7 separate regions of the Homo sapiens genome follow, and all the other regions are linked to region 1. Evidence: promoter capture Hi-C in 16 types of primary human blood cells and fetal thymus (Javierre and others, 2016). All regions are on one chromosome and are shown on one strand. Each heading gives the region's core, a stretch centred on a gene start or on the middle of the fragment in contact. The rest is flanking DNA. Distances are from core to core; before and after follow the strand shown.

Region 1 (3,331 bases), core at 264-2,763:
GCTTCTCCTTAATCTCCCCGAAATTCGTTCAGGGGAAATACCCACTTGGGACGGAAGCTCCCAGAAATAAATCTGGAGGGTGTTTGTATTGGGAACTGGGCTACAGAGCCTGATAAGACATCCTGGCCGTGCAGTTCGGGGGAAGAGGGTGAACCCGAGGCCTGGATTCTCGGTGGCTGAGTCGAAGGGTGGAGGGGCCGGGGCTGTGGCTTTCTTCAGGCTTTAAGGCCTGGGGCGGCGGATGCGTCCAGGGCTCGGATGCCCGCGGTGGAGAAAGGGCTCCCAGCCCGGTGAGGCGGAGGGCTCGGCTGACCCGGGGCTCGCTGCCAGGAACCGAGCAACCAGCGTGGGGTTAGCTGGGCCCAGGTCCCACTAGGGGCTTCGGGGTCGGAGCAGAGTCTGAGAGAGGCTGAATTTCCCCCGAGCTCGGAGACGGACCCGGACGCAGAAGAGCGAGAGCGCGGGGCGGAGGAGACCGCCAGGGCCAAGCCGCGGGGCCTCCTCTGCGCTGGGACTCAGAACGGTTGGGGCTATTCTTTAGCAGTATGTTTTCGTTTTATTTCATTCGGAGGATTTTAGCGTTTTTGTTTTAAAAAAAAATCGCTCCGGTGCCAAACGAGAAAAGTCAACTTGGTTGTCCGTGGGAGCGAAGCGTGGCGTCAGGGCCAGAACCTGGAGCCGGGAGCCGGGAGCCGGGAGTCCCCAGCTCTGCTCTGATCCGTGCAGTCCCGTGCCCCAGCCCGCCCGCCCGCCCGCGCGCCTTCCAGCCGGCCGGCAGCCCTACCTCCCGGACTTGGTGATGACCATCTCCGTGCCTAGCTTGTGGAACTGGTCCCACAGCTCCTTGGCCTCCAGCGTCACCTTGGGGTCGTCCTCCACCTCGTCCTCGGGCTCCAGGCTCTTGAGGGAGCGCAGATGCGCGGCGGGCGGGTGCGGGCCCAGTGCCGAGACGTGCAGCCCCGCCTCGGCCGCTGCTGCCGCCGCCGCCGCCGCGGCCGCCGCCCCCGCCAGGCCCGGGTCGGGCAGCGGCTTGGCCAGCGCGCCGGGCGGCAGCGCGAGTGCCGGGAAGAAGGAGGGCTGCGCCGCCGCCAGAAAGGCGGACATGGGGAAGTCGGCGGGCCGTGGCGCGTGGAACGGGTGGTAAGCCATGGCGCTGGCCGCCAGCGCCGGCTCTCTCATCGGGACATCCGGCCCAGGCGCCCGGGGGCCGGGGCCGGGGCCGGGGGCGCGCGGCTCGGACCCCCGGCCCGGGCGGCGGCGCGCGCGGTGGACGGACGACCCGGGTGGCGGGCGCAGCAGCTGCTCCTCGGGGCTTCCCGTCCGGCGCACCGCAAGGGGCACCCGGCTCTGTGCGCGGGGGCGGCGGGGGCTCTGCGCGGGGCCGGGCTGGGCCGGGCTGAGCTGGCCCGCTCCGGCGCCGGGGACCACGCGCGACTGGTTAGATCTTGTCGTGATCTCTGGAAAACTGTGACTATCTCACATGTCCTGCCCAGCTCGGATCCCCTGCGCTAACGAGCCAGGCCCCCCTTGATTGCTGATTTTACGCTTTTTGGACCAATTGTGGGTCTCCGGGGGCGGGGTTTTGACAGCTCAGGCCAAGCTCCGGCCGGGAGGGGGGGCCTGGGAGAAGGTGTCGGAAGCCTCAGCAGTAAGAAAACATGTCAACAGAATAAAATATTAACCAATGACGGGCCGCCGGGCCCCGAGACCCCTCCTCCTGCCCCGGCCCCCACCGCCCGCCCGCGCCTGCGGCTGCCTGCGCCGGACTGGAGAGCGCGGAGGGCCGACCTGACCCGCCGAAAGGGCCTGAGGCGAGGGGAGCCCGGGTCCCGGGGCCTTGGGGAAGGACCCGCAGCCGCACGCCGGCCCCAAGTGCAAAGCATTGACACGACCCCGAGCGGAGAGGGGGCGCCCTCCTTCTCCCGCGCCCAGAGGCCCGGCCGCTCTGGCCCGAGCCCCAGCCTGGCCTCCGACCCAGCTCCGGGTCGTGGCGCCGCCTGGGGGTCCCTGCGCCCCGGAAAGAGACAGCAGGCACTGGAAAGCGAGGCCGGTGGGCGGGCGAGTCGGGAGGCTCGGGCGGCCGAGGTCCGGGAGCGGATCCCAGGTGGCGGGAGCTGGTGAGTGGAGCCATGGCCGAGCCCTGCTGGGGCCGGCGCGGGCGGGAGCGGGACGCGGCCTTGCGCTGGGGAAACGCGGGGACCCCCTACCCGCGCCCGCCTTCACCGGAAGACTCGGAAGGAACCTGGAGTTCTCCGCAGGCCCGGGCCCCGCCCTGAGCTTTCCAGCGGCCGGGAGGAGCGGATCCTCGGGGCCAGGAAGGTGAGCGCACCTTTCGCTGAGCACAGGGCGGCACCGCGCGGGCGGACCCCGGATTCTCCACCCGCGACCCAACGAATTTTCGCCCTATCCGGTACCGGAGACGAAAGTCTCCTTCTTCCGAAATACCGGCTTCCTCTCTTCGCCCTGCCAACCACTTTTTTAGTTTCTTCTCATCTCTCGGAAGCGCACGTCTCCTAAGTTAAGGAGTGCTGAGTAACGCGTGAGGGAGTTGGGGTGTCTGCGAGCACCTGTGATTGAAGCCCCCTCTTCTGTGATCAGTCTTCGTTTTCTGTCTTCCGGCAGCCTCAGTTTCCCCCCCATGAAGTGATGGTGTGTGTGTGTGTGTGTGTGTGTGTGTGTGTGTGTGTGTGTGTGTCGGGCCCCGTGTGGTGCCCTCTGTGCGCAGCGAGAGCTATAACTCAAGGTGTGCACGGGGAGAGTGAAGCGACCACGCACCTGCTTCCAATCGGGCTCGGGCGCGAACACTCAGGCTGATTCCTGAAGGTCGTTTTCTGAAGGAAAAGACAGAGCATGCACTAGCCACGGGTGACATTCCCACCCGTACAACCGCGTGGTGGGCGCGTACATCCAACATTGACCCATGCAGGCGCCCGCCCACTGCGCACACCGGTCGCAGGGCACTTCGTTGTTGAACGTTGGGAGCAGCGTTTGAAGGCCGGATCTCTCCTGGCAGTGCGGATTCGGGACCGGCGGAAGCAGTATGGCCTCTGCGACCGTTATCCCTACTTTTCGGGGCCGACCCCAGGGCCCTCACAACTCCTCATCACCGCATATGTGAGCGCCGCCCCCACAGGGTTTTCTCCACGACCTCGTTCTTGGCTAGGTCGCACCTCTCTTAGTACCTCCTCTCTGGCCAGAACGAATCTTTGACTCCGAGCTGCGCAGTCTACGCAGACGGGGCAGGATCCACTGCAGTTTTCCACAGGCAAATACCTGCTGGCTCCACCTTAGGCGAGATGTGGCCTCTCGGGGAGGGACCCGTTGTGGACAC
Region 2 (3,331 bases), core at 593-3,092, 470 kb after region 1:
ATCCCAGCACTTTGGGAGACCGAGGCAAGTGGATCACGAGGTCAACAGATCGAGACCACACTAGCCAACATGGTGAAACCCCGTCTCTACTAAAAATACAAAAAAAAATTAGCTGGGCGTGGTACACGCCTGTAGTCCCAGCTACTTGGCAGGCTGAGGCACAAGGATCGCTTGAACCTGGGAGGCGGAGGTTGCAGTGAGCTGAGATCGTGCCACTGCACTCCAGCCTGGCAAAAGAGCGAGACCCTGTCTCAAAAAAAAAACAAACAAAAAACAAAAAAAGAAAGAAAGAAAGAAAAAAATAAATAAAAGAATTTAAAAATACTGAACTGACCTATCACTTTCATTGTCAAAATAGAGACTACCATGCCTAATACAGTGCCATACATCTACAGTGGGGAATAGTTCAAAATAATTCACTAAGTTTCCTATTACTCTGAGACACCATGCCAAGCACTAGAGATACAAAGATTAATGACATCTGATCTCTTTGTAGGAGGAACAGATAAGTTAGCAAGGGAAACAAATATTTAAACAAATGATTGTCACAAAATAAATTACATCATAGTTATAAACCTAGTGTCCCAGCAACACAGAAAAATAGGTATAAATATTGCTATTTTTAACCTTATCGTATAAACACAAATGTGAGAGGACAAAGAAATCAAATGGCAAATGTAGATCAAAATTATGAAACCATTTTATGACGACTACAACACTCTTTATATTATATAATATGTTCTTCTTATAATGCAAAGTCACAGGAAAAAAATACAGCTGCCAGTGTCAGAAGCACTGTAGGGTTATATGAAATATACACTAACACAAAGGAGATCTGACATAACAGATGGAATATCAATATGAGTCATACCGGTCATTCCAAGTGGAGTGCTACAAGTGACATAACTTCCAGGCTGTTTTTTCACATTTAACTTAATTCCCACAACACTCACAGAATTTCAATAAATCTTGCCTTTATTAATTAAATCAATCCTACTGATTACCAATCACTATAAAAATCCTGTTCCCTTAATCAAAGATGACTTATTAAGATATTAGAGGGTAGATTATTTAAAGTGCTTTATAAAATAATATCTCTATATAATGATAATCCCTTACTATCATTCTTTATTTGAAAAGATGAAAAGAAGGGGAAAAGGATTGGCTTTTCCCATCAATTTTAAGTGATATAATCATTTCTGAAAACTAAGATTAAAAGTAGCATGCTCCTTAGATACATCAACCAAATGGGTAAGATCTGAAAAGACTGCAAGTTTATGATGACTATACCAGCTCTGAAAACAAAAGAGCAGTTTTATTTACAAAGTATTTTTAAAATACAGATTGAGCATTCCTAATCTGAAAAACCAAAATCCTCACAGAAATTTATGTTCTTCTTATAATGCAAACCAAAATGCTCTGAAATGCTCCAGAACTGGAGCACTGACATGATGCCACAACTGGAGAATCCACACCTGACCTCATGTACAAAGTCTCAGTTAAAACGGAGTCAAAACTATGTTTCATGCACAAAATCACTTAAAATATTGTACAAAATCACCTTCAGGCTATGTGTATAGGGTATACATGAAACAAATAAATTTTGTATTTAGACTTGGGTCCCACCGCCAAGATAACTCATTATATATGCAAATATTCCAAAATCAAAAAAAAAAAATCTAAAATCAGAAAGACTTCTAGTCCCAAGCATTTCAGACATAAAGTACTCAACCTGTAACTTGTTTCCTACCACTGGAAGTATTACACCAACTCCTTACTGTGAAAATTGGTCATTTAAAAGAAAAAGAGAGAGAGAGAATTAGGCATTTATACCACTTTTGATATACAGGAGAAAGGCTGTTTACTCCTGGCTGATGAGAGAAAACGTTTTCTATAGAAGAATAACAGTCAATAAATGCAGAGACCAGGACAGAATTAAGAAAACAACCCACCATTCTACAACCTTCAATGTAACAAAATTATTAATTAAAAAGTTGCTTCAGAAATAATGTCAAAATGACATACTGTAGAGTACTTGTTAATCTCCATAAGAAAAACCTATTTCCAATAATGTAGATACTTGATAGTCATTACTTTACTCATGTGATCAAATATAGCACCACAAATAGGGAGACAACCTAAAATAATGTGTCTCCTATTGGGATGAAATGATGTAGACGCAATACTTACGAAGTTTAGAAACAAACAAACAAAAACTCCTTAGCCTGAATGGATTTATACCTCTAGACTTAACTTCCAGTTAAACAGATAGATATCCAGGGAATGGAGAAATACAAAAACATTATCATAATGAAAAAAATCTGGCCAAGCATCGTGGCAATACTTTGGGAGGCTAAGGCAGGAGAATTACTTGAGGCCAGGAGTTCAGGACCAGCCTGGGCAGCATAGTGAGACTCTGTCTTTATCTTTTTTTAAAAAAATAGTAAAATAAAAATTTAAAAATCTTACAAATGCAGAATTTAAATAAGACAACTACTCTGGATATTGTGAAAAGAAAATTAAGAGTACAAATTGTATGCTATATTAAAAGGAACTAAAAAGATATAACAAAATGTAAGGAGTAAACCTTAAGAAGAAAAAGAAAAAGAGCACCACTAAAAAAAAAACCGAGAAAATTAAATTAGCTTACAAAGTGTTGTAAGTTAGTTACACAAAACTTCAAGTTACAAAAAAAAAATACTGCTCATATCCATTAATATTCTAGTTTGGAATACTGAAGTTCTTGGAGTAATTATAAACAGAAATTCATGTAACTCAACAGCATTGTTTAAATGGCTGCTATTTAATAGCTACTTTATCGAGAACAAAACCAATTTTAGAGGGATTTTAGAGGGGTACTAAATTTTTATTATAAATTCCTTTATTCAATATAATGACTTAATAACTTTTCTGATATATACTGATACATGAAGAAAAGTCAGATTCCATATTCCATATTTGGCTGGAAAACCCATTATATAAATGGTCTACAAAAAAAAAAAAAAAAAAGACAGAGAGCGAACTTACCACTTGTATTAAAAGCCATGCAGCACACTGGCTTCTCATGGGCAGGGAAGTGGGCCACAATGCCATCACTGTCAGAATCCTCACTCACAAGCACCTTCACAAAGAAATAAAGACAAATGGAGGTAAATATTTTCTCACTGATAACCGAGCTTGAAGCCTATAAGAAGGCACATCACAAACCACTGACCAAATAACATGTTTCCACTCTAGCAGATTATTCTTGCCAATATAAGGAGAGAATTCCACTTTAGAATTGAGGAAGAGATATAACATGCCCCCACGCACATCAGTCATATAAACTCTA
Region 3 (3,331 bases), core at 267-2,766, 460 kb before region 1:
AGATATGTCAAAGATAACATACCTGAGTCAAAGATAACATACCAGGCAGTATACCAAAACCTGGTATAGAACCTATGCTTCCTGACTTCTGGTCAACAGCTTTTTTCTTCTAACTGGAGGACTGCAGAAAGGGGTAACACAAAGGGGAAGAACTGGAGAAAGAGTGATGCTACGGAGTTGTAGAGAGAGAGGCCTCAGGAACTTATTTGTTTCTGTAGGTTGATTACATCTGATCTAACTGTTACAAGAGCTCATGTTTAATCTGGTATGTACTTTATCATATTTGCACATTATTTCACTTAATCATTACCACAATCCTATGGGGTACATGCAGTCACTGTGGCTTAGAGAAGGTAACTAACTTTCCCGAAGTCACACAACTAATACCTGGCAGAGTGAAGGATACAAATCTAGATTTGTTAGACTCTAAGACATGCTCTTGACCGCTGTGATTTATAAGACTAGGAAATTATTTTGTTTCCATTTGTTTTGTTTATACTTTTATTAATTCCAGTTTCTGTTTCCAGATTTCTCCCTTAGTTTTGGTTCTCTGGTTTTCTTTGTAAGGCGTGTCTCAATATTTGACATTTTCATTTCTGTTGTAGTTAGGAATCTGAAATAAACAGGAAAGCACTATGTCTTCAATGTGGTCTGAATATACAATTGGTGGGGTGAAGATTTACTTTCCTTATAAAGCTTACCCGTCACAGCTTGCTATGATGAATTCTGTAAGTATTTTTCAGCAGTTAAGTTTTTATTAAGATATAGATACTTATGACCCATAAAGTACATTGAGTATTTGACTGCATTCATATTCTCAGTAAATGGAGAATATTTTCTGGGTTCACTTGGAAGAATATCTAACCTCTGGGAAACTACTGATTGCAGCTAAACTGTATATATCTGTGGTTAAGGCAAAGAAGAACATTCTGAAAAATGTTCTCAGCTCATTTGGAATTTCTATACTTTTAATGAAAAACTGCTATACTTTTAAGTAAAAACAGAGTATTTACTATCTTTTACACAGAATACTATTTTTCTCACCATTGTTTTGTTTGGATCATGTAGAAAATTAATATACAAATTTGAGTAAACCAGCTTTCCAGTTTTGTTACAGCTATTTTGCCATATGTACTTCATATCTTATTTACTGGTAACAAGATTATTAGTATCCTGAATTTGTTCTTTTCCTTTCCTAGCCATGTTTTTATACTTTTATTACATATATATGTATCCATAAACAATATAGAATATTATTTTACATATTTGAAACTGTGCATTGATGTGATACGGTACCTTACTTTTTATGCAGAACTTGAGTTTTTTAACTTAGCATTATTTTTAATGTATAGCCCTGTTGATTCTTAATCCATTTTAATTGTTGTATAAATTCCATTGGATGAATATACCAGAATTTATCTGTCCATTTTCTTATTGGTAGACATTTAGGTTGTTTACATTCTTTTGCAGTTACAAACAATGCTGCTGTGAACTTCCTTTTTTCTTTTTGTTTTTGAGACAGCGTCTCACTCTGTCGCCCAGATTGGAGTGCAGTGGCGCGATCTTGGCTCACTGCAACCCCTGCCTCCCAGGCTGAAGCTATTCTCCTGCCTCAGCCTCCCCAGTAGCTGGGATTACAGGGATGCGCCACCACGCCCAGCTAATTTTTGGATTTTTAGTAGAGACGGGTTTTCACCGTGTTGGCCAGGCTGGTCTCGAACTCCTGACCTCAAATGATCCACCTGCCTTGGCCTCCCAAAGTGATGGGATTACAAGCGTGGCTGCTGCTGTGAACTTTCTTATGCATGTTTCCTTGTGTTCATGTGGGAAAGGTTTTGGGTGTACACATAGAACTGGACTTGCTGGAGCTGGGCATCTTCACTTTATAAGAAATTGTTTATTTCTCTACCAAGTAGTTGTAACAATTTGTACTCTCACTAGCAGTATCCTTCATTAAGTTTTCATCAAATATATTGATAGGTAGTAATGTATTCTGGTTTTACAGAAATCATTGATGCTTGCATAATTCTGGCACAGATTCCTCTTTTCATTTCTTCTCTTGTGCTTGATATTTTAGTAAGATAATCTTAGGGAGAGGTGTAAAGGAATACAGTTTGGATTTAACTAAATATGAGTTCCTTCTGCTATTGTTGTGTTCCCTGGAGTGCAATCTCACTTTTCCTTGCTGTTCTATTTAAACTTCAGATGGAGAGAGACCTTTATAAAGTTAATATGTTTATTATTTTCATTGGTTTCTGTGTTCATAGATTCTCAGAGGATTAAACAGCAAGCAACATTGTTTGTTGGAGAGTCCCACAGGAAGTGGAAAAAGCTTAGCCTTACTTTGTTCTGCTTTAGCATGGCAACAATCTCTTAGTGGTAAGTAGTTGCTTGATATCTTCAGGTTACTTACTGGGATCTGAGAAAATATAATACAGTATTCTTTATCCAGACTGGTTCAGCCATGCTGTCGCTAACTTAAATATTTGTTTAAAGATGTTTCTTTGAAATAAGTTATAAATCTTCCAAAAGAGTTTCAATATAGCAAAATATGTTTAATTAATGCTAAAATAGTATTGAACATAATTTAGTCTTTTGATGAGTCGGAAAGTACATAAAGACTTGGCAGCCTGGGCAGCATGGTGATACCCCATCTCTACAAAAATTGACAATCAATTAGCCAGGCATGGTGATGTACACTTGTAGTCCCAGCTACTTGGGAGACTGAGGTGGTAGGATCGCTTGAGCCCAGGAGGTCGAGGTTGCAGAGAGCTGTGATTGTGCACTCCAGCCTGGGTGAAAGAAAACAAACAAACAAAGTTTTGGATGCTTAGAGTTATTATAAAAATAATTAGATGATAATTTGTATGTAAAAGATGCAAGAGATGGGCTGTCATGATGCTGTAACACATACTAATTGCTTTTTTTGGGGGGGGAAATCCTTTAATATATTTGCTTACCTGTTCCTTTCTCATAACATCAGCACATGGAATATATAAAAAAGAATACATTCTAGTTGATCTTTCTACTTGTTTAAATGCCAGATAAACAGAAATTTAGTATAATATTGTTTGTATGAATTTATATTACTTCCCACTACTTTTCCTTTTTTTTTTTTTTTTTTTGAGTGGCGTCACCTGGGATGGAGCATAGTGATGTGATCATAGCTCACTGTAACCTCAAACTCCCAGGCTCAAGTGATTCTCCTGCTTCAGCCTCTTAAATAGTTGGGATTATAGGCATGAGCCACCAGGCCAAACTATTTTTACTTTGTTTGCTAACAAATGCCTATTAATATTTACTTCTATGAAAGACTATATAAACTACATAA
Region 4 (3,331 bases), core at 555-3,054, 460 kb after region 1:
CAGTCTCGCTCTGTCACCCAGCCTGGAGTGCAGTAGTGCATTCTTGGCTCACTGCAACCTCCACTTCCTGGGTTCAACAGATTCTCATGCCTCAATCTCCCAAGTAGCTGGGACTACAGGTGTGCGCCACCATGCCTGGCTAATTTTTGTATTTTTAGTAGAGATGGAGTTTTGACATGTTGGCCAGGCTGGTCTCAAACTCCTGGTCTCAAGAGATCCGCCTACCTCAGCCTCCCAAAGTGCTGGGATTACAGGCGTGAACTACCATGCCAGGCCAAGGCCTATTTTTGAAGTTCTATTCTATTAATTCAATTTCTGTGTCTATACATTCACTAATACCACATTCTTGGTTACTGTAACTTCACAGAAAATCTTGAAATCAGGTAAAATGAGCCTTTTCCTGCCTTTTTCAACATTATTTTAGCCATTCTTGTTTAGGATTTTGAGGGAACTGTATTGAGTGTAATAAATTAATTTGGGGACAACTGTTATCCTAATATTGTGCCTTCTGATCTATTAACACAGCATATTTCTTGATTTAGATCTATTTTGACTTCTTTTTGTTTGACACACAGATTCTGAAAATATTGTCTTTTAGAGTTATTATAAATGGTAATATTTTTTAAAATGATCAATTTTTGCTTGCTAGTGCATAGAGATAAAATTGATGATTTTTTATCTTGACAATGTATGTTTCCTGCAAGTTCTAGGGGTTTTTTTATACAGTACAAGAATTTTCTTTGATGACAATTACGTAGTTTAGGAACAATCACAGTTTCATTTCTTCCCTTCTGACCTACATGCCTTTTCTTCAATTTTCTCGACTTACTGCATTTGCTGAGGCAAGCAGAAATAGGAAGGAGAGATTTCTGTGTTGTAGGAGGAAAGCATTCAATCTTTAAGTATAACATTATGTATAGGTTTTTTGTAAAAGTCCTTCGTAAAATATGTTGAGAGTTTTTATAATGAAAGAAAATTGAATTTTTCAAGTGCTTTTCTGCAGCTATTGAAATGATTATGTGGCTTCTCTTTTTAAATCTATTAATATAGCGAATTCTAACAATAACTGATTGTCAAATGTTGAATATGCCTTGCATTCTTGGGATAAGCCTCGTTTGGTCAAAATCCTTTATTATAAGCAGCTAGATTCAATTTTCTAATATTTTCTTGAATATTTTCTTATCTGTGTCCCTGAGAAATACTGATTTGTGGTTTTCTTTTCTAATAATGTGTTTGGATGATTTTGATATTTAGGATAATCCAGGCCTCAAATAATCAAATGGGAATGCTCCTTACTCTGTTAATTTCTGGGGAAAAAAAAGATGTAGGATTGCTATTATTTCTTCGTTAAATGTTTAAGGGAATTTTCAAGTAAAAATATTTGGGCCTATTTTTGAAGATTTTTAACTACCATTAAATATTTTGTTAATTTTTTAATTTAAAATTTCTTCTTTGATGAATTACTTTCTGTAATTCAAGGAATTCATCCTTTTAATATCTGTAGAGACATTAATGATATCCACTTTTTCATTCACGATATTGGTAATCTGTGTCTTCTCTGTTTTTTTTCTTCACCAGTCTGGTAAGGTCTTTTTAAGGTTAACCTATTTGGTTTCATAACTTTCTGTTTTTCTCTTTTCAATTTCACTGATTTCTGTTACTATATTTATTATTTCCTTTATTCTCCTTGTTTTGGGTTCATTTGCTCTTCCTTTTTTCGAGTTTCTTATGGGAGCAGCTTAGATTATTGTTTCAGGAACTTTCTTCTTTTCTGGAGTAAGCACATATAGGTATTAATGTCCCTCTAAGCCTGCTTAGCTAAATGTAACAGATTTTGATATGCTGCAATTTCATTTATATTCAGTTTTAAATGTTTCCTAGTTGCTTTGTCTTTTGCTCGTGGGTTATTTAAAGGTATATTGTTTTGTTACCAAATATTTGGATATTTTCCAGATATCTTTCAGATATTATTGCCAGTATAATTTCATTATGACAAGAAGTTACTTCTTTTACATTTGTTAAAGTTTGTTTTATGGCTTGAAATATGATCCTTGTTCCATATACACTTGAACACCTAGAATATATTCTAGAAAGGTATGTAATTGGTAGTGATGTTTGCATCTTCAATTTCCTTACTGACTGACTGCTTTCTGTTCCATTACTGAGTAGGAGTTACAGTCTCCAAGGATAATTGTGGACATGTGTAGTTTTCCTAAGTTATATCAGCTTCCTAAATTTTAGAGCAAGGTTCATACACATTTAGGATTGTATGAAGTCTTGGTCAATTAACCCTTTTAACATGATTTAACCGTGGTTATTTTCCTTGCTCTGAGGTCTAGTTTTTTCTGATATTAACTTTACCACTCCAACTTTGTTTTGATTGGTACTTGCATGGTATATATTTTCCATTCTTCTACTCTATATCTATCAATATAGGCTTCTTTTAGATAACAGTTGGGTGCTCTCACACTCGCTCACTCTCTTTCAATCAAATCACTGCCTTTAATTGGTATTTGTAGTTTATTCATATTTAGTACTTACTGGTAGGGCTGGACTTAGGTCTACCAATTTATTATTATTTTTGCTTGTCTTGTTTCTGTTTTTTATTTCTCTTTTCATGTTTTCTTGCTGTTATGGGACTATTTATTTGGAATATTCAATTTTTATGAAATGCTAATTTCAACATTTTATTCAGTTTTATTTCTCTTCTCATGGTTTCTTGCTGTTTTGAGACTACTTATTTTTAACAATATTTATTGTTGAATGTTAAAAATAAATAATTTATCTATGGACTTTTGAGCTATATCTCTTTATATTAAAATTTTACTGGTTGTTCCAGAGATTATAATACACATATCTAACTTTATGTGCCTGTTCAGTTGTATTTTGTCCAGGTTTCATAAATGTTTTCTATGGGAAGGATGGTTTCTACGTTTACCTTGCTATTCCCAGAAGCAGAATCACATTAGTATAAGCATTTAAACTAATGTTTTGTTGAACAAAAAGGCATGAAAGAATATTAAGCATCTGTGGGAAGACAAGATAGTCATTTCAGTGAAAAGATGAAGTAAATTTGAGTTTGCTATTTCTTTGGCAAACATAAGGTACAGCTCTAGTCACTATATTAAAATATCCTACTAGATGCCACTGTCCTGGCTATTTCCAAGAGAATACATTTTAGAAAATGAAAGGTACCATTTATTATAAATAATTTAATAAATTATTAAACCTACAACAATATATATAACCTTACCTCTCATTATATGTCTAGCTATGATCATGAGGTTATTGACATAGTTTATATTCTTTACTTACTGTTATTCAAACAATA
Region 5 (3,331 bases), core at 578-3,077, 440 kb before region 1:
TTTCTCTCTCTCTCTCTTTTTCTCTCTCTCTCTCTCTATATGTATATAATTTTTTAAATTTATTTATTTTAATTTTTTTTTGAGACGGAGTATCGCTCTGTCACCCAGGCTGGAAGTGCGGTGGCGTGATCTCCGCCCACTGCAAGCTCCGCCTCCTGGGTTCATGCCATTCTCCTGCCTCAACCTCCCGAGTAGTTGGGACTACAGGCGCCTGCCACCACGCCTGGCTAATTTTTTGTATTTTTAGTAGAGACGGGGTTTCACCACGTTAGCCAGGATGGTCTCGATCTTCTGACCTCGTGATCCGCCCACCTTGGCCTCAACCCAACCTATGTTAATAATAGTTTTCCAGCATCATTAGATCACAGTTTTGAAAAAAAACCAGTTTCATTTAAGAATGTCTTTGATGAAGCAGTAAAAATTACTAATTTTATTTAATCTCAGCCGTTTAGGTTTTTAACATTCTGTCTGAAGAAATGAATAGAACTCATAAAACACTTTTGCATACAGAAGCAGGATGGATGTCCTGGGGAGAAGCGCCTGTAGGATAGTTTGGATTGTGAGCTGACTAGCCACTTTTTGTCATGGAACATCATTTTTGCTTGAAAAAGAGTGAATGATATACTAACCATGGTAATTCTTTATGATAAAATGAGCCAGATAAAATTTGAGCTTTCAAGTGAAAATCAGAATTTTAAAAAATTTGTATATACTCTGAGCTTGGCAGCTTTGTGATAACTACAGACTTTTCTGATGAAATTGGTGATATTACAGAATATGACTTTTTATATTTATATAATGAAATGTGTCAACATTTGTAAGATCTGTAAAACTCAATGAACTTAAACTCAGCGAACTAAATATTATTTAAATGACCAGTGCATGATATTGCAAAATGATGCCTAGAAAAGGTCCATCCTAAGTGCAAGATAGACTGATGGACCTTTTTTCTGCCCTGTCCCCCCATTCCCAGGCAACCACAGATTTGTTTTCAGTTACTGTACATTTAATTTGTGTTTTGTTGGTGATCTTCACTGAAGCTTTATATTAATAGTTGGAGAAATTATGTAGAAGCTTCTTCTGTTAAATTGCAATAATCATCAACATCATTATAATGTAAGCTATATGTTGAGCTCTGCCACAGTGTTTTCTCATTCATTTTCTTTCCTTTCCTTCATGGGCTTACTATTATCTGAAATTACTTGATTACTTGTTTATTATTTGTCTGTCCTATTACGATGTAATGTCAGTCTTTTTCATGTGTGTCCCTCATGCCTAGAATAGCATATGGTGCATATTAGTTGTCTAATAAATATTTATTTGTTGAATGTTACTGAGTTCTTACAATGATTATGAAGCAGGTATATTGGTATTCCCATCGTACAGATGAGGAAACTCTGAGAAGGAAGAAACTGGCCTAAGATCACAAAGCTAGTAAATAGTAGAGCTAAATCCTGCCTAGGCATTCTCATGTTCTGGCAAATGCCCTAATCACTTTATTTTATATTCTCTCTAAAATGCCTCTTTGCAGTCCTGGAGCCACCTAAATAGGGTTCTAACACCAAGATAAGGAAAGAAATATGTAGAAGCTCACAGATAAACAAATCAAGTATAGAGTCACCTGTGATTAAGATTTTTTTTTCTTGGGAATTGTTTTTGTTTGCTTTATTTGTAGACACAGGGTCTCAATGTGTTGCCCATGTTGTAACGCAGTGGTGTGATCATAGCCCACTGTAACCTCAAAATCCCAGGCTCAAGTGATCCTCCAACCCCAGCCTCCTGAATAGCAAGGACTACAGCTGTGCAACACCATGCCCAGCTAATTTTTTATTTTTATTTTTTGTAGAGATGAGGTCTCACTGTGTTGCCCAGGTTGGTCTCAAACTCATGGCCTCCAGTGATCCTCTTGCCTGGGCCTCCCAGAGTTTTGGGATTATAGGCATGAATCACTGCACCTGGCTTGTTTTGTTTTTATTGGTTAAGAGAATGGACTTTGGACACATACTGCCTGATCTTAATTTTTAAATAAAGATTGGGCCAGGCATCATGGCTCATGCCTATAATCTCAGCACTTTGGGAGGCCAAGGTGAGAGGATTGCTTGAGGTCAGGAGTTCAAGACCAACCTGGGCAACATAACGAGACCCTGTCTTTATAAAGAATAGAAGAAAAAAAATAGCTGTGTGTGGTGGTGTGTACTTGTAGTCCTAGCTACTCAGGAGGCTGAGGGAGGGGGATCCCTTGAGCCAGAAGATTGAGGCTGTATTGAACTATGATTGAACCACTGTACTCCAGTCTGGGTGACAGAGCGAGACCCTGTCTCTAAAAAAAAATAAAAAATAAATACATAAAATAAAAATTATATATATTTTAGGTGTAAAACATGATGTTTTAATATATATATACATAGTGAAATTATTACTACAGCCAAGCTGTGATAGTCTGTTTGAATTGTTATAAAGCAATACCAGAGGCTGGGCAATTTATAAAGAAAAGAGGTTTATTTTCACTCACAGTTCTGTAGGCTGTGCAGGAAGCATGGTGTCAGCATCTGCTTCTGGTGAGGGCCTCAAGAAGCTTACAAGCATGCCAGAAGACAAAGAGAGAGCAAACTTGTCACATGGAAAGAGAGGACAGAGGAGAGAGCAGAGGAGGTTCCACACTGTTTTAAATAACCAGATCTCGTGTGACCTCAGAGCAAGAACTCAACTCATTACTGTGAGGAGGGCACCAGCCATTGATGACCCAAGCACTTTACACTAGGCCCCACCTCCAACTTGGGGGATCACATTTCAGCATGAGAGTTGGAGGGGACACACTTCCAAATCATATCACAAGCTAATTAATATATTCATCTCCTTACATAGTTACCTTTTGTGTGTGTGTGTGTGTTGAGAACACCTGAAAATTTTAAAGCCAATATCGAAATATCCAGCCTAGAATATAGTATTATTAACTGTTGTCATGATGCTGTTCATTAGATCTCTAGACTTGATTCATCCTATGTAGATTCAACTTTTTACTCTTTGATCAACATCTCCTCAAATCCCCCACCTCCCTGCCCCAGTAACCATTGTTCTGATTTCTGTTTCTATGTATTTGACTTTTTTAGATTCCACGTATAAGTGAGATCATGTAGTATTTTTCCTTCTACATCTGACATATTTCACTTTGCATAATGTCCTCCCTCCAGGTTCATCCATGTTGTCACAAATAGCAGGATCTTTTTTAGGGCTAATATTCCATTGACATACACATACACACCACATTTTCTTTATTCATCCATTGACAGACACTTAGGTTATTTTCATATCTTGAGACTGCTTGGATTTT
Region 6 (3,331 bases), core at 381-2,880, 420 kb before region 1:
CACAGACTTTTCAGAAACTGGAGCAACTGTGTTAAGGAATTCCCATTTACACTAGGCAAGAAAGTAAACAGTAAGTGGAGAGTAGGGTAACAAACACTTATGGTATCAAAAAACAACCGTGAAAAGGATCTGTCTTAATGTGCTAGCCCACTGCAGTTTAACATATTGCTTACAACCTTCACAATAGAATTTGAGTGACTTCAGTTACACATTCCAGGAGACTGGCAGTCTGTTACAATCAGAGTCTGAACTTTAGAGCAGGCTAATTTACAGCGATGGGATGAAGAAAGTTGTGGATTTGTATTACACACTCTCACCTGACACTGTATCTGATCCCCTACCTGCTGATTGACATCTTGAATGAGCTCTTTGAAGCAAGTTCCAGCTTAATTAAAACGTTTGCTTGGTTAGCAGTGATCTATGAAAGCCTGTGATAAATATTGAATCAGGTTCACCTGCTGGTTGCTGTGAGTGGATAAACAGCTGCTTTGTGCAGTCTAATCATGAAACGGTGGCAGTAGGGTACTACTACTGTTTGAATTTTTAAAAAAAGAATAGTTGAAAAGGTATAGTTATGTTACTTTTGCTATCTTACTAGAGTGTGTGCTAATGTGAGATTTTGCACAACGGGCATTCAGTACCTGTTTAGATGGCTTGGACAACAGCAAATGGTTGATAAAGATTAAAAAACCCTTTTTTATGTCTCAAAGTTTGTAGTATAATTCTATGTTCATTGGCCTTTTACCACTAGCTCTTCATATGCATGACTTTTTGAAATAAAGGGCAGTGTTTTGCTTTTTTGCTTAAGTGGTAGATGAAAACAATCCTGTTAAAGCTTCACTTTAAAGATTTAAGGTTATGAATTTCAACTTCTCCACAAATTTATTGTGTATTTTGTGGGAATTTGAATTCTTCTGAATTTCCTTTTTTATCTGTAAAATGAAGTTAGAAATATACATTAGTGAACTGAGTATTTTAGCCTTATGTTAATATTAGGTAATTAACAAACATTAAAATAGAAATGAGTTCAGAAGCAGTGGAGGAAACTTTATGAAATTCTCTTGGCTGTTGTTTATTCCTTTACAGAATAACTATGTCTGGCTAATTTGGTTATAAAGAAAATGTTGTTTCCATTTGATTTTCGTTAAAAAACCAGATATAAATTCTGGAATAAAGCCCTAACCCAAATCAGTCACAATCTGCTTTGAGCACTTGATTAAAGTTAGGGGTTCACTTTCTAAAAATGCACACAAAATTGTGTCTGTAGTTTCTGGGTGATCTGTAATAGCCCATGGACCCTAATTTGAGAACCCATTTCCTAATAAATTAGGTTGAAAACTTTTGAGGAGGAGGTGTTAAGATGAAAGCTATTCTGCTGGGTATGAAACAACTGAGGAGAAACCAGAACAGAGTATATTTACTGTGGGTTTTTTTTTTTTTTTCCAGCACTTCTAGCATTTTTCAGGTATGTTTTTCATGACAATTGTTAGCTTTTAAGATTATCTTCCATAGTCTTGATTCCTCACTCTCTACCTGAAGTTTTATATTTTTATTTCTATCATCAACTTATTTAGAATTTTATGGGGAAAATACAATTTTGTTTAAGCCATACTCAGCCTGTTCAACTGCTTGTTCATGTTTATCGATGTCGATGCATACAACTGTCATTCATATATTTTCATTATAATATTATTCCATTGATTGGAAAGAGCCCACAATTTACTCATCCATTCCTTCTGTTGATACATGTAGCTTGTTTTTCTCACTATTAAAACAATGCTGCAATTAATATTCCTCTTGTATCTGTCTTAATGTGCAAGAGTTTTTCTAGCATGTATACCTAACAGTGTCATGCTGGGTCAAAGGGTATATGTATCTTTGATTTCACTAGATCACCAATTTGCTCTCAAGTAGTTGTGCCAATTTATACTTCGATCAGCAGTGAATAAGAGTTTCTTCATATCCTCTCCAGTACCCAATCTGGTGGATAGGAAATGGAATCTAATTATGGTTTTAATTTGCATTTTCCTAATTACTAGTGAAGCTGTACATTAGATGGCACATCTTTTCAGATATTTATTAGCCTTTCAGCTTTTCTCTTCTGTGATTTGCCTGTTCTTGGTTTTCTGTAGGGTTTGTCTTTTAAAAATAGATTTATTGGAATTCTTTATATGTTGTAGATACTGATCCTCACTTGACTGTAAGCACTGCAAGTATCTTCTGTCAGCCTGTGCCCCCTTTTTACCTATTTTTCTTTCCTTCTTTAAGGAATATGTATCTTTAAATAGAAGTTTAACATGTTAATGAAGCTGTGTTTTCACTCATTTGTGTTTTTGGTTTATTGTTTTAGGAAATCCTTCTCTACATTTCGATCATAAAAGATATCTTCCTATGGAAGAAGAGACCATATAGCCTTTGAAGCTTGAAATGTTTACTGTCTGGCTCTTTTGCTGACTCTTGCTCTAAAGAGTCTATTAATTGAAAGTTTGTGTTTTTTATTTTTCCCTTGGGGGACATAATATGGATCTTGTTATAACATATTTGATTTAAATGTCAACTAATAAGTTAAAACAATTTTTATGAAGATCATACTTAGGAATATTTTGTAATTGCATTCATAAAATAATATAACTAACTTTAAACAATTCCTTGGTTTATGAGTGAAAATGGTGTGATAAACTCCAAGAACTACACTTTGTAGAACAATTTAAGAATGAAGCTCTCTTTGTCAGTAAGATGAGGTGATCCTTGTCATTGTCTTCTCCGTGGCTTGATATATAGGGATTCCAATGTCTCTTGAGTCAATGAATGAATGAAATGGGATATTAGATGAAAAATGTTTAGCACAAGGACAGGCTTAAAAATGGCAGTATTATTACTAATGAAAATATTGGGATATATGTTTGTCACGACTAAAATACTAGCATAAGATGGTTTTTCTTTTTGGCCTTGAAAAATAGTAATTGTCCTGTACTTTTTCCTTTAAAAGCTAATCTGGATTTTGAAGTATCTTTTTGATATGTGCAGCACTTCAAATTAGGACATCATTTAAGCATCTGTCAGATTTAATTGTAATGCATGGGTACAGTATTTGGTTCAGGGACATTTAGTCATAATTCATCAGTTTAAAAAAAGCTAAGTTACAGTTATGTGCAAAACACCACTCTCGATGAATGAGCTATATAAAGAAATGTAAGACATAGTTTCTGTCTTCAAGGAATTTGCAGTGTGGTTGGAAAGACAATACATGCACATGTGGAAAGTTATGGAAGAACACAAGTTTTTGTATTTTTTTTTTTTACTGTTTCATTGACCTAGTTTTCCTTTTATT
Region 7 (3,331 bases), core at 591-3,090, 370 kb after region 1:
GAAATCATAAAATTTTAAAATATTTAAGAGAACAAGATTAGTTTACATGAACTGTTTATAGCTTGATCAAAACTCTTAGAAAACACTAATTAAAACTTTCTAATTTAATATGCAAATTTTAATTCTTTAAAATTTACCCTTATATAATATGAAAACATTTTATGAGGAAGAAATATACTTATATGGACTACCCATTGTCTACCTGTCATGTATGTTTTTTGATAAGCAATTCAAAAATAACAGTAGCTTAAATACAACACTACATGCAAATTCAGAGCTTGATACATTCCTATTTATTTGTAATATTGAAAGCAAAATTCAGATTCAAAAATTCACACTGGGATTATTTATCTTAAATTCCTATGTTTAAAAAAGTATGTTATATGTGTAATTCTTTTGTATTATTTTATATAGTCATCCAAACTCAAATATCCTAAACTAACCTAGATGACACATAATACCAGGGAAGTCCAAAGTGACTAAAATGTTGAAGATGCATAGTTTACTTTCCAACAAGCTTATTTTGTTACCAAAGGGAACGACTGTATTTTATAACGACTCATCTGAAAGTATATGAATGTAAAGGACTAAACCTGTTTAATGGAGAATAAAGAACTAGCAGAAATTGTGATATACCAAAAGCAAATTCTTAGCTAAGTGTTAACGTTGCAACTCGAAACTAATAAAAAGTTTGTAGAAAATTTACATTTCATTTAAAAATTTCATTTTTCATCCAAAATACATATATTACCCTATAACTGGATATACTAAAAACATATTTATTTAGCATATAATGTTTTATTTCAGAACAGTACATAAAAACATTCTCAGGTTGAATGCTAAATAACATGGAAAAATAGCAAAAACTATTAAAACAAAGGAGCTCTTATAAACAAAATGGAAGAAGTTGTCAAATTTATATTCATTTGCTGCCTTAATTTGAGGTTTCATTAAGATCTTAATGGAAAAAACATGCACCACTGGGAAAGTAACATTTTAAAGGAGAACCTTTTAGTCTAGTATAAGTGACTAAAAACGAGTTTCTTGTGAGCTAACGATGGCATCAAACAAACCACAAAGCAGTCTTCTAAAAGACAGGCAATGATTTAAAAGTCTACTATATTTAATATATCCCTTTCTTTAATCTGGCTCTTTTAATCTTGTTTCAACCTCAAATCATTTCTGGTTGACAAGTGCTTTTGCTTAAATGTGAGGAGCACGTAAGCTGTTGAAGGAATGAACTTTACTTACTTAACATACAACAGTTGTTATTCCATCTTTTACTTCTATGCAAAACTTCAATCTTTATTAACATACTACAACTCTTTGCTTTGTACTTAGAAGAAGAATTTATCCTAAAATGGAATTTAATTCTAAGTTTACAAAGAAATTTTGTCATATGTTGAATGTGGCATTTAAAATTCACTGATCACTGGAAGGCTCATAAGTAAGATCTGTGTATCTTATTTGTTTTTAGAAGACATCTGGTTAACAAAATGAATAAAGATCAACTTTCATGAGATTTATATTCTTGTATATCCTGAATTTGTTTAGAATAGTTTTGCAAACTGTGTCTAATTATAATTTTCAAGGAGGAAAATTTTATGTTGATTTGTTTTATGTCACCTATTATTAAGCAATAACAAAATTTTCAGATCTTCCTATGGCATATAAACATTGAAATAAGTTTGTGTCAAATAATAATTAACCTTAAAGAACTATTTAAGCTTCTTTCTGTCCAAGAGGAAAAAACGTTGGAATGTTTTTTTCTAGTGTAATAGAACAGTATGAACAATCCCCATTTAGCAGTTATGAGAACTACACATATGTGCAGAACTCTTTTCAGTATTCTGACTAAATTAATAAAATTAATATAGCTTACATTTCTCAAAACTTCGCACTGGTTAACATATCCTTAAAAGTGAAAAACATAATCTAATTTAAATAAGCTTCTTTTGAAACACGGTATTTTTCCCTGAAACAGGAAAAGAAACAGTGGTAGCAGCTAACATTTACTGCACATTTACTATGTGCCAGGCACTGTTATATACTAACACATACTGAGATATGTATCAGCTTATTTAATACTCATAGTGAGTCCATTACATAGGTACATTTAATACATAAGGAAATAAGAAATAGAAAGGTTTTAGAAAACTCCCCCCAAATCATATAGCTAGTAAGTGTGTCAATTGGGATCTAAGACCCAGGCAGTCTGACTCTTAACCATTAAACATTTTATACCATTCTTAACACATTCTACTTCCTATCTTTACATGAAAGTATTAAATATATTCGAATTCTTTTCTATGACCTTCCTGTCTAAGACTGACAAAGCTGTATTCTGTGCACTGACATGAAAGAATTTACCAAATAATTAAGCTATGATGAGTATGTGCTAATAATTCAAAATAATAAATTATTTAGGAGGTTTTATGTAAAATATATATTTTGTCATTATGTAGCTCCTTAAATACCTAAACTATTCAAAAACAGAACTTTTGTCTCTTTAGGACCAAATAAAATGCAACAAAAACTTTATAAGGTGCTTTTGGTATACCTTAAATATATTTATATTTCAAAATAAATCATGTCCTCAAATGCTATGCATGATATGTAGGTAACTTCTAATGCCATAATACTCAAAGCTTTAAACTTGGGTGTTAGCCTTGTCTTGTAATATTTACGAGCATTATGAGAGAATTCTTCTATTTAAAAAAAATTCATCTGTGGTTTTTTTTTTTTTGTTTTTTACTTTTTAAAGAATGAAGTGAAACCAAGAAAACCACTTTTCTAAAGCTTAAATATCAACATTCATGTTCCATCTACAAATTATTCAGTAACTTGGTGCATCTATCTGTGATCAGGCCATGCAACTGGAAACAAAACTACAAAACAAATTACTTTTTGAGAGTACAGCAAATGAATGAGGCATGCGGGACTGAACTGGAACTCACCATGGGGCTTTTATGGAAAAACACCCCGCTCCAAAGAGATAAGGCCTTCATGGAAAAGGGGGAAAAATGCACAAAAAATTAGAGAAAAACTCATTTAACATTAGCAAATACAAGTATATCATACTGTTATAGAGTATGGATAAAAATAACTAAAAAATTAGTAATCATTTACAATTCTGCTGTACATACTGTCTGATATAACCAATAAACAGAATGATGTGTAGTAACAAGGCCCTTAATTTTCAGAGTTAGAGATTCAAAATTTTCTATTTCTCCCCCTTTTCTGGAGCACCCCTGTAGTATTTCTAAGTTAAAATAAAATAAAATTCACTGCTGAAGCCCTTTAAAACAAGGTATAAGTTAAATGGAATAAC

The links. Contacts are between HindIII fragments. The CHiCAGO score rates a contact against its expected background, and 5 or more counts as called.
Region 2: a fragment that was not itself captured here is called in contact with the fragment with the promoter of TBX2 in region 1 in 2 of 17 cell types (megakaryocytes and M1 macrophages); the score reaches 5.4 in megakaryocytes.
Region 3: a contact is called between a fragment that was not itself captured here and the fragment with the promoter of TBX2 in region 1, in 3 of 17 cell types (total B cells, monocytes and naive CD8 T cells). The highest score is 6.9, in total B cells.
Region 4: a fragment that was not itself captured here is called in contact with the fragment with the promoter of TBX2 in region 1 in 3 of 17 cell types (megakaryocytes, M2 macrophages and erythroblasts); the score reaches 8.9 in megakaryocytes.
Region 5: a contact is called between a fragment that was not itself captured here and the fragment with the promoter of TBX2 in region 1, in 7 of 17 cell types (monocytes, total B cells, naive CD8 T cells and 4 more). The highest score is 7.9, in monocytes.
Region 6: a fragment that was not itself captured here is called in contact with the fragment with the promoter of TBX2 in region 1 in 1 of 17 cell types (total B cells); the score reaches 5.6 in total B cells.
Region 7: a contact is called between a fragment that was not itself captured here and the fragment with the promoter of TBX2 in region 1, in 13 of 17 cell types (megakaryocytes, naive CD4 T cells, M0 macrophages and 10 more). The highest score is 12.9, in megakaryocytes.

What each region holds. Positions count from the first base shown.
Region 1 is chr17:61,398,025-61,401,355 of GRCh38, reverse strand. It overlaps TBX2 (T-box transcription factor 2), which reads right to left and starts at 1,513. Exons shown (of 7, transcript NM_005994.4): 1 at 785-1,513. The coding sequence starts at 1,179. TBX2-AS1 (TBX2 antisense RNA 1) reads left to right here and starts at 1,750. Exons shown (of 2, transcript NR_125751.1): 1 at 1,750-2,117. RefSeq lists a cis regulatory region at 1,429-1,440 and promoters at 1,429-1,676, 1,296-2,556. The HindIII fragment of the contact is 11,976 bases long and covers 1-3,331 here.
Region 2 is chr17:60,924,197-60,927,527 of GRCh38, reverse strand. BCAS3 (BCAS3 microtubule associated cell migration factor) reads right to left here. Exons shown (of 24, transcript NM_017679.5): 13 at 3,028-3,121. Among named protein-coding and RNA genes, the nearest start is that of BCAS3-AS1, 210 kb to the left of the region's middle. The HindIII fragment of the contact is 4,676 bases long and covers 1-3,331 here.
Region 3 is chr17:61,858,844-61,862,174 of GRCh38, reverse strand. It overlaps BRIP1 (BRCA1 interacting DNA helicase 1), which reads left to right. Exons shown (of 20, transcript NM_032043.3): 2 at 606-728; 3 at 2,268-2,379. The coding sequence starts at 636. Among named protein-coding and RNA genes, the nearest start is that of BRIP1, 3.0 kb to the left of the region's middle. The HindIII fragment of the contact is 1,636 bases long and covers 699-2,334 here.
Region 4 is chr17:60,942,464-60,945,794 of GRCh38, reverse strand. All of the region lies in intron 13 of BCAS3 (BCAS3 microtubule associated cell migration factor), which reads right to left. Among named protein-coding and RNA genes, the nearest start is that of BCAS3-AS1, 190 kb to the left of the region's middle. The HindIII fragment of the contact is 5,117 bases long and covers 1-3,331 here.
Region 5 is chr17:61,842,933-61,846,263 of GRCh38, reverse strand. All of the region lies in intron 6 of BRIP1 (BRCA1 interacting DNA helicase 1), which reads left to right. Among named protein-coding and RNA genes, the nearest start is that of BRIP1, 19 kb to the left of the region's middle. The HindIII fragment of the contact is 1,501 bases long and covers 1,077-2,577 here.
Region 6 is chr17:61,813,226-61,816,556 of GRCh38, reverse strand. The region is part of intron 6 of BRIP1 (BRCA1 interacting DNA helicase 1); the gene reads left to right. Among named protein-coding and RNA genes, the nearest start is that of BRIP1, 49 kb to the left of the region's middle. RefSeq lists an enhancer at 1-799. The HindIII fragment of the contact is 1,586 bases long and covers 838-2,423 here.
Region 7 is chr17:61,026,537-61,029,867 of GRCh38, reverse strand. The region is part of intron 16 of BCAS3 (BCAS3 microtubule associated cell migration factor); the gene reads right to left. Among named protein-coding and RNA genes, the nearest start is that of BCAS3-AS1, 110 kb to the left of the region's middle. The HindIII fragment of the contact is 222 bases long and covers 1,730-1,951 here.